Regions from separate parts of the Homo sapiens genome. Here region 1 is linked to region 2. The links are contacts of gene promoters, found by promoter capture Hi-C in blood cells and fetal thymus (Javierre and others, 2016). All regions are on one chromosome and are shown on one strand. Each heading gives the region's core, a stretch centred on a gene start or on the middle of the fragment in contact. The rest is flanking DNA. Distances are from core to core; before and after follow the strand shown.

Region 1 (4,129 bases), core at 1,625-4,124, 260 kb after region 2:
GACTTAGGCCACACCTATCCGGCTCCTGCTCATTCCGTGTTGGGAGGACCTCACTAGGATGAGGGAGGCAGAGACCCTGTCTGGAGTTCATGGAGATCCTTCTAGGCCTGTAGTCTCATGCCTGTAATCCCAGCAATTTGAGAGGCTGAGGCAGGAGGATCACTTCAGGCTAGAAGTTCAAGACCAGCCTGGGTGACACAGCAAGACAAAAAATTTAAAAATTAGCTGGGCATCGTGGCGTGCGCCTGTGGTCCCAGCTACTCAGGAGGCTGAGGTGGGAGGATCTCTTGAGCACAGGAGGTGGGAGCTGCAGTGAGCCGTGATCATGCCACTGCACTGTAGCCTGGGCGTTCTTTCTAGAATGTTGTTTGAGGTGTGCCCACGTGGTATACGTGACACTCCTCACTGCCCTGCTGGGATCACTGCCCTGTGCAAACCCCAGGCAGACTGCGGGGTCCTTGCCAGAAGCCCAGTTAGTGTGAGTCCTGTCAGTTTCCCGGTTGCTTGCTTCTGCGTCCACTTGGCTTGAGCTAGATGGCCAACTTGTCATCTCCACATTTGTTGGAGTCATGGCGGGCAGCTGTCCAACTTGGAAGAGGCATGTCACCCACGCTTCTCACCACAGGAGGGTAACACAGGGGACCGTAGCAAGGTAGAAGATTCTTGACCTGGACTTCAGGGTCCTGACCTGGCAGGGGGTCTCCCCTGATGCTTGGGTGTGACATGACTTCCCTCCCCACCAACCTTCCTGCAGTGACAGCTCCCAGCGGCATCCTCGATGTCACCGTGGTCTACCTGAACCCAGAACAGCATTGCTGCCAGGAATCCAGTGATGAGGAGGCTTGTCCAGAGGACAAGGGACCCCAGGACCCACAGGCACTGGCGCTGGACACCCAGATCCCTGCAACCCCTGGACCCAAACCCCTGGTCCGCACCAGCCGGGAGCCAGGGAAGGACGTCACGACCTCAGGGTACTCCTCCGTCAGCACCGCAAGTCCCACAAGCTCCGTGGACGGTGGCTTGGGGGCCCTGCCCCAACCTACCTCAGTGCTGTCCCTGGACAGTGACTCGCACACACAGCCCTGCCACCATCAGGCCAGGAAGTCATGTTTACAGTGTCGTCCCCCAAGTCCCCCGGAGAGCAGTGTTCCCCAGCAACAGGTGAAGCGGATAAACCTATGCATACACAGTGAGGAGGAGGACATGAACCTGGGCCTTGTGAGGCTGTAAGTGTGTCAGCACATTTGCCGCAGTGGATGTGTACTGAGGGGGCTGGAGGCGAAGGGTGGGAGCATAGCATAGGAACGCTGCATAGACCATGGAGGCCTTTGCGCAGAGAGCAGAGAGGATGACTTGCGGCCACCAAGTTTCTGTCTCCGCGGGAGTCCCGTGCAAGCCATCAGAATGTTGAAATGAGGGTGAAGAGCTCAGATCCCTCTCTTTGGAAAGTTTAGCCTGGAAGCAGTTGGCCACACTGTGTGGAGGGCACCTCTCTGTCCCTTCCGTGTCTCACTGTCTCTGGAAGCTTCAGCCCATGTGTGTCCTGGTGTTCCCAGCCCCACCAGAGCCCCGTGCCGGGAGCTGACAGCTTTCACGCTTAAGGCACGTGTGACCTGGGTAGTCAGACACCACTTGAGCCCCTGCCCACATCTGCTGGTTTGGGGCTTCAGTGGGGAGCTGACAGCTGTGAGCACACCACTGTCCCCTCATCCACCTCGGCCTGCATGGGGCACCCACTTCCTTCTGGGTGGGGCTTCCATGGTAAGGGGGCCTGCGTCCCTGCACACTGCGAGGACTGCCTTGGCCACAGGCCCACTCCCTACGACACGTGACTCGTTTTAGAGCTCTGTCCCAGAGGCGTTCGTATGTGACCCACAGATGGCGTCAATGTGAACACCTCTCTTTGTGCTGAATTTCTGGGCCATTCTTTTCCTGTCTTATTTCTAAATTTCCTTCTTCCAAGATGAAAACAAAAGAAAAACTTAAAACAGAAGGTATTAAAAAAACAAGAGATTCCCACCATTATTTAGGTTCACCTGCAAAACAAAAATCTTACTCCAGCCCCTCAATGCCATCCTGACACACTTTATGCAAAAAGAATTTTCCCAGATAGGCTAGCCAGAAAAAACTTCAAGTCCTCTGTAACATCTGAGGTGACCAAGAGGCAGAAGAGCAGAGCAGTCGGGGGCCGTGTCCTGGCTGATCCCAACTGCAGCTCTGCTGTGGGGGCCCGTGGGAGGGAGGCAGACCCCTGGGCTTTCCTGCTGGCCACGGAGACTCTGCTCCTGCATGGAAAGGGAGCCTGGGAGCCAGCAGCCCACGCCTGGGGAGCCTGCCTGGGGCCATGTGACCATGGCCTCTCCCTGGGAACGGGCTGACCACAACACACCCTGCTGCCATCCACTTCTGTTTACTCTGCAAATGTAAGAAAGAACCACTTGGCCAGAAGTGTCCCCCAGATGCTTTTTTTTTTTTTTTTTTGGAGACAGTTTTGCTCTTGTCTCCCCGGCTGGAGTGCAGTGGCATGATCTCAACTCTCAACTCACTGTAACCTCCGCCTCCCGGATACTCCTGCCTCAGCCTCCTGGGTAGCTGGGATTACAAGCACCCAACCACGCCCAGCTAATTTTTGTATTTTCGGTAGAGACGGGATTTCACCATGTTGGCCAGGCTAGTCTCGAACTCATGACCTCAAGTGATCCGCCCACTTCGGTCTCCCAAAGTGCTGGGATTACAGGCATGAGCCACGGCGCCTGGCCCCCAAATGCTCTTGAACCGGAAACCCAGGGATGGGAGATGCTCACTGAGCTGCTGCTTTTATGTGTGCTGGTGCTATGTGTGTTCATGTCCGCGGCAGCTGTCTTTTTGCTACTATAAGGGAATTCTGGCCACCCTGGGTGGGGTGTGGTCGGGGTGAGAACCCAAGCGTTGGAACTGTAGACCCGTCCTGTCGACTGTGTGCCCCTGGGCATGTGTGAGCCTCAGTTTCCTCATCTGTAAGGGGGGCAATGATACCTACCTCACAGGGGTGTTGTGAGGATTAAATGTGAGGAGGATAGTGGCAGATGAGTGATGGACGTCCTTCACTGCCTCGGCCCCTTGTCCAGGGGCTCTTAATCCCAACTCTGCATGGAGTCAGTTCTCTGCTTTCTCCCAGCTTGCACCTGAAGGAGGAAACCACTCCAGGGGGACCTGGCCCCGCCTGCCTGTGGTGGGTGGGTTCCTGCATCACCCACCTGCTGACTGAGCATTTCCCTGCCTCCTCCTTCACAGAGAATCTCCAGGGAGGCAGGGCCACCGTCACCCTCCCCCACCGCTGATGGAGGGGCCCACCCGGAGCGCTGGGCCAGAGCTGCCTGGGTCCCAACCTCCCTGACAACTCCCTTTGTGCCCTCCTTCCCCTCTGCGATGGCACCTTCCCATTAACGACTATGGAATGGACTCACCTGTCCCATCTTTAAACAGCAACCCCAGGCTCTGTTTTTCTTTCAGCTACCGCCTGGGATTTCTTGCCCCCTAATTGTTTATTCTTGTTAACACCAACTACATGGGGCCCTGCTGCCTTCCTCACTTCCTCCCTCAGGTGTCCCCCGCATCACCGAAGGCCCTGTACCCCCGCCCCCCTGCTGTGCTGTGTACACCGCCGAGGCCTCAGCAGCACTTGGCCTGTGACCCACTCCCTCCCGTGACAGCCTCCTGTTGCCTCTGTGACACTGTCCTACTGCTCCTCCACCTCCCTGGCCATTGCGTGGGCCCCGTGATCTGTCCCTACCCGTCCCCTGCCCCACCAGGGGCCACCTCGCCTGGCCCACTGCTCCAAGGTCTGAGCTTCCTCCCCTCTGCCCAGTGCTATCACGTCACATGTCCAAAAGTGAACACTTTCTCCTCCTTCATCCCCGCCCCTGACACGCGGAATCCTCACCTCCAGCAACCCCGTCCTGTCCCTGTGCTCGGTGGCCCAGGCGTCAGCAAGACGGCTGGTCCCTGCGTTAAGAGCACTTTCAATAAGGACAGATGGAGCCTCTCGTATAACCTTCACCGGCCCCCTGCAAGAGAAGCGCGATAATGGCGCCCCCATCTACCCAGTTACCCAAACCAAAATCCCGGCGTCGCCCGCAGTCACCTCCCT
Region 2 (3,939 bases), core at 497-2,996:
GGGCCGTCCAAGACTGCGGTCATTGCTGGCATTTACTGAGCACTTACTGAATGCCTGGGCTGCAAGTGCCCAGGCTCACTGGTCTTAGGACCCCACCGTGAGGCTGACATCCCATCCTACAGACGAGGAGACTGAGGTCCACTGAGCTGGAGTTGTCTGTGTCCAAGGTCATGCGGCCACTAGGTGGAAACCTTTACCTTGCCTTCCCTCAATCCCTACACCTGCTCTCCAGGCTCAGCTGAGGCTGCCTCTGCCCACAAGCTCTCCCTTTCTGAGCCCCCGGACCTGAAATCAGCTCGGGGCCAGCCTGCAAGGCACCGGTGCCCCCTCTCTCTTACTGCACAGAGTGGACAGGAGCTAGCCAGTCATGGGCTGCTGGTGAAGTACGGGGGAGGGGGTCCTCCTGGGACTCCTAGGTGCCCCCAACAATCTCCCAGAAGCCAGTCCCAGTTCTCGGCATCCCCCTGGAGGAAGGGGAGGGGGACTCTCTGGCTTACAGTCTGTGGGGGTGGAGGGAGGAGGGAGGACGCCCAGACCCCACGTGCCGACCTGCAGAGCCCTGTCCGTGCCCGCACAGGTGCCCTGACACACTGACACGGCTATACGTGCGCAGCCGCACACGCGGCTGGTCCACACGCCCATCCATCCATCTCCGGCGGCCCCCAGGGAGGCTACGCGCTGAGCCAGGATGAGTGCTGGGACCAGGGCTCCAAGCTCCCAGCCCTTTCCTGGGGCCGGCCATAGGGCAAGCTGGGGATGGCCAGTGGTGGTCCCCCACTCCCTCATGGCCTCCTTTCCCAGCAGGGAAGCTGGAGACCCGGCTCTGCTGGAGCCTGCCTGAGCAGGGCCCCAAGCCCTTGCGCCCAGGCCGGCCCTGCCTGGAGTCCAGCCTGCCCTGGGCTGGGCGACCTTGGGCCTCTGCTCTCCCATCAGTAAATGGCACCCCACCGGCCATGCCAGGGCAGCCACACCCCCAGCGTGGTCCTGCCCCCACCTTCCCTGCAAAGCGTGTTATTAAACGTGGGGCGGGAGGGGGTCTGCTAGGGACTGTCACCTCCCGGGTCGCCCCTCGCCGCAGGGGCCCCCTCCCTGTCTTCCCGGTGCGTGTGGTGGGTGGGGGGGGCATCCGCCTCGCCCTTTGAAGGCCCCAGCAGAGACCTCCAGCTGTCAGCCCGCAGCCTGGGAAGGGAGGGGGACAGAGGTAGAGAGAGAGGGATGCGAACGCCCGCGGCCCGGGAGGCGGGTGCCGCCAGGTGCCCGCTGCGGGGCTCACGGTGGCGGCCGGCTCTCGGGGCCGCCCCATCTCCAGTGCTGGGGGCAGCGGGTGGAGGGCACGGACCAAGGGTCTGGGCGCTGCTGGCCCCGCCCCGCCCCCGGGGACCCGACAACGTCCCCTCCCCGCCCGGCGCCGGGTGGGGGGCTCCGCGCCGGGGAGGGGCCCCCGGGGCTCCCACCCGCGCCCCGCGCCCCCGGCACTCACTGGCCTTCCCGGGCCGCGGCCTCTGCAGCAGCCTCTGCGCGGTCCCTACGTCCTCCGCCTTCACCGCCTGCACCAGCTCCTGCTCCTTCCCCATGGCGCGGCCGGGGCCGCAGCGACGCGGCTGCGCTCGTGAGCTCGGCGCGGCTCAGAGGCGGCGGCGGCCCCGCGGCACCGGCCGCCTCCCCCGCCGCCTCCCCCGCCGCCTCCTCGCCGCCCGCCGCCCCTTCGCCCTCCTCGGGCTCCGGCTTGGGCTCGGGCTCCCGGCGCGGAGGGGGCGGGGAGCGCGTCACGGGCGGGGGGCGGCCCGGGGGCGGGGGCGCGCGGCGGGCGCGGGGCGGGGGCGCGGCACCTGGCGCCGCCTCCCGGACGCCGGGGTCCGCTCCCGGGCCGCCGACCTCCGTCAGCCCGCGCCGGCCGCGCGCCCGGGCCCGTGGCTCCGCCCTCCCCGCGCCCGCCCCGGGACGCCCCCTCCCCACGTGCGCGCAGCGCGCTCAGGCCAGGCCTCTGCGGACGCGGGCGGCCTGGGGCTGCTAGCCGGGCTGGGGACGCGGCCGCCGGGGGTGCACTGGGAGCCCCGACGCGGCGGCGGCGCGGGGCTGAGCCCAGAGAGGCTTCCAGAGGCTGCGGGACCCGCGGGGGACGGTTCCGAGGCAGCGGGCGGGCGGGGACCGGGCGCCGAGAGACCCGGGCGCCAGTGCCCCTGGAGCCGGCCCGCCAGGCTGTCAGGCGTTCCTGGCCCAGGGTTCCCGTGGGAGGTGTCGAGGGATTGTGAAGAGGAATCTCCCAATAATGAATTCGGTGTCAGGGAACCCGCACCCCCAACCCCCAAGCATCCTCCTGCTCCTCTCCGCAAATAATGCGGGCGCCACAGCTTCCCCCAGCCTCAGTCCGAAGCCTGACCCCAAGGTAGCCCCCACCACCCCCACTGAGGGAGCTCAACTCCCCACTCCCCGCACCGACTGGGGGTCGCCTCCATCTCCATCCACAGGGGCTGGAACCTCCCGCCGGCACCAACCGACCCCCGGCCCACGTCTGCCCACTCTCCAGCCTGCAGCCCAGGCAGGCGAGTCCTGCTTCCTGGGTGCTGGAGGCCCCGACTTGTGACCCTCTGAGCTCCTGGCTGAAGGCTTGGGCCACCCTGCGCCTCAGGCCCTCTCCCGTCAGGCCTGCAGCATTCTAGAGGCAGATCAGTGGGGGTCTGAGTCCCGACTCAGGCTCCGTTTCCCTCATCACCCAAGCGGGCAAGGCCGTTTGGAGAATTTGGGGAGGGTCGCACCCATTCTATGAGGCATGGCCTGGCACCCCACTCTGTGTGGCCCCAGACCATTGAGCAGGTCCAGGGGGACAGAGGAGGTCAGACAGCAGGGACAGGGAAGGTGACAGGCACCGGGGTCCCGGCATCCTGTGGGCAGCTGGCCGTTCCCGTTCCCTCCGTGGGGTCTCCTGTTAGGTTCAGGTAGCAGCCCTTGGTCTTCCAGCACTCCTGGGAGGGGTCCCCAAATGCTAGGGCCTTTCCTCTTGCCCTTTCCAATGACCAGTTGAGTACCCGCTGGGTCAGGCACTGTGCTGGTCACCTCCTAGATGAGGTTGGACTCACTGTCCCCATTTTACAGATGAAGAAACTGAGGCTCAGAGAAGCCAAGGGGCTCACCTGGGGTCCCAGAGTCTTGAGGTTGTAAGTCTGGGCTTTGCACCCGCACCTCTGGATGTGTCCTATTCCCCCTCTTAGTGGTTTGTGACCATGAGCTGGTCACTTTGTCATTCTTTTTTCTGAGACAGGGTCTCGCTCTGTCGTCCAGGCTGGGGTGCAGTGACGCCATCATAGCTCACTGCAGCCTCAACATCCCAGGCTCAAGCAGTCCTCCCGCCTCAGCCTCCTGAGTAGCGCCCGGCTAATTTTTTTTGATTTTTAATAGAGATGAGGTCTCAGTATGTTACCTAGACTGGTCTCGAACTCCTGGCCTCAAGCAGTCCTCCCACCTCAACCTCCCAAAGTGCTGGGATTGCAGACGTGAGCTACCACACCCAGCCCACTGCCTAAGTGTCTGTGCCCCTCTGTAAAATGAGGATATGCATGCTACCTCCCCTTAGGTTACTGGAGGATAAATTGTGATACTATCCACAAAGCATTTCACGGCAGGACTTAGTAAGTGCTCAAAAAAATGGCTGCTGTAGATATTGTGATATTCTTGGGCCTCTCTGCCTGTGCAGCAACTGTGTTTTGTGCATCTTTGTATCTACGCTACCTTGCAGTGTGAAGAGCACATAGGAAGAACTAAAAATAAAAATAAGATAGCTGCTGGCATTACTATTACTTTTATGTTTTGGACATGTTAAGGCAAACCACCCTGACCTGTGCTTAACACACAAACAGAAGCCCACACACCAAATGTTCAAATATTTAAACGCTACAAATCACGCCAGTCACCTGTTAAGTATGTTCTATTCTCCTACCTTGA

The links. Contacts are between HindIII fragments. The CHiCAGO score rates a contact against its expected background, and 5 or more counts as called.
Region 1: a contact is called between a fragment that was not itself captured here and the fragment with the promoter of CASKIN1 in region 2, in 1 of 17 cell types (fetal thymus). The highest score is 5.9, in fetal thymus.

The regions. Positions count from the first base shown.
Region 1 is chr16:2,455,791-2,459,919 of GRCh38, forward strand. It overlaps CCNF (cyclin F), which reads left to right. Exons shown (of 17, transcript NM_001761.3): 17 at 755-3,064. The coding sequence ends at 1,230. LOC105371050 (a long non-coding RNA gene) reads right to left here. Exons shown (of 5, transcript NR_188689.1): 1 at 4,124-4,129; 2 at 3,923-4,046; 3 at 3,020-3,164; 4 at 1,044-1,176; 5 at 276-795. Among named protein-coding and RNA genes, the nearest start is that of TEDC2, 2.3 kb to the right of the region's middle. RefSeq lists enhancers at 2,793-3,607, 3,838-3,927. The HindIII fragment of the contact is 2,703 bases long and covers 1,524-4,129 here.
Region 2 is chr16:2,194,859-2,198,797 of GRCh38, forward strand. CASKIN1 (CASK interacting protein 1) reads right to left here and starts at 1,747. Exons shown (of 20, transcript NM_020764.4): 1 at 1,481-1,747. The coding sequence starts at 1,574. The HindIII fragment of the contact is 37,961 bases long and covers 1-3,939 here.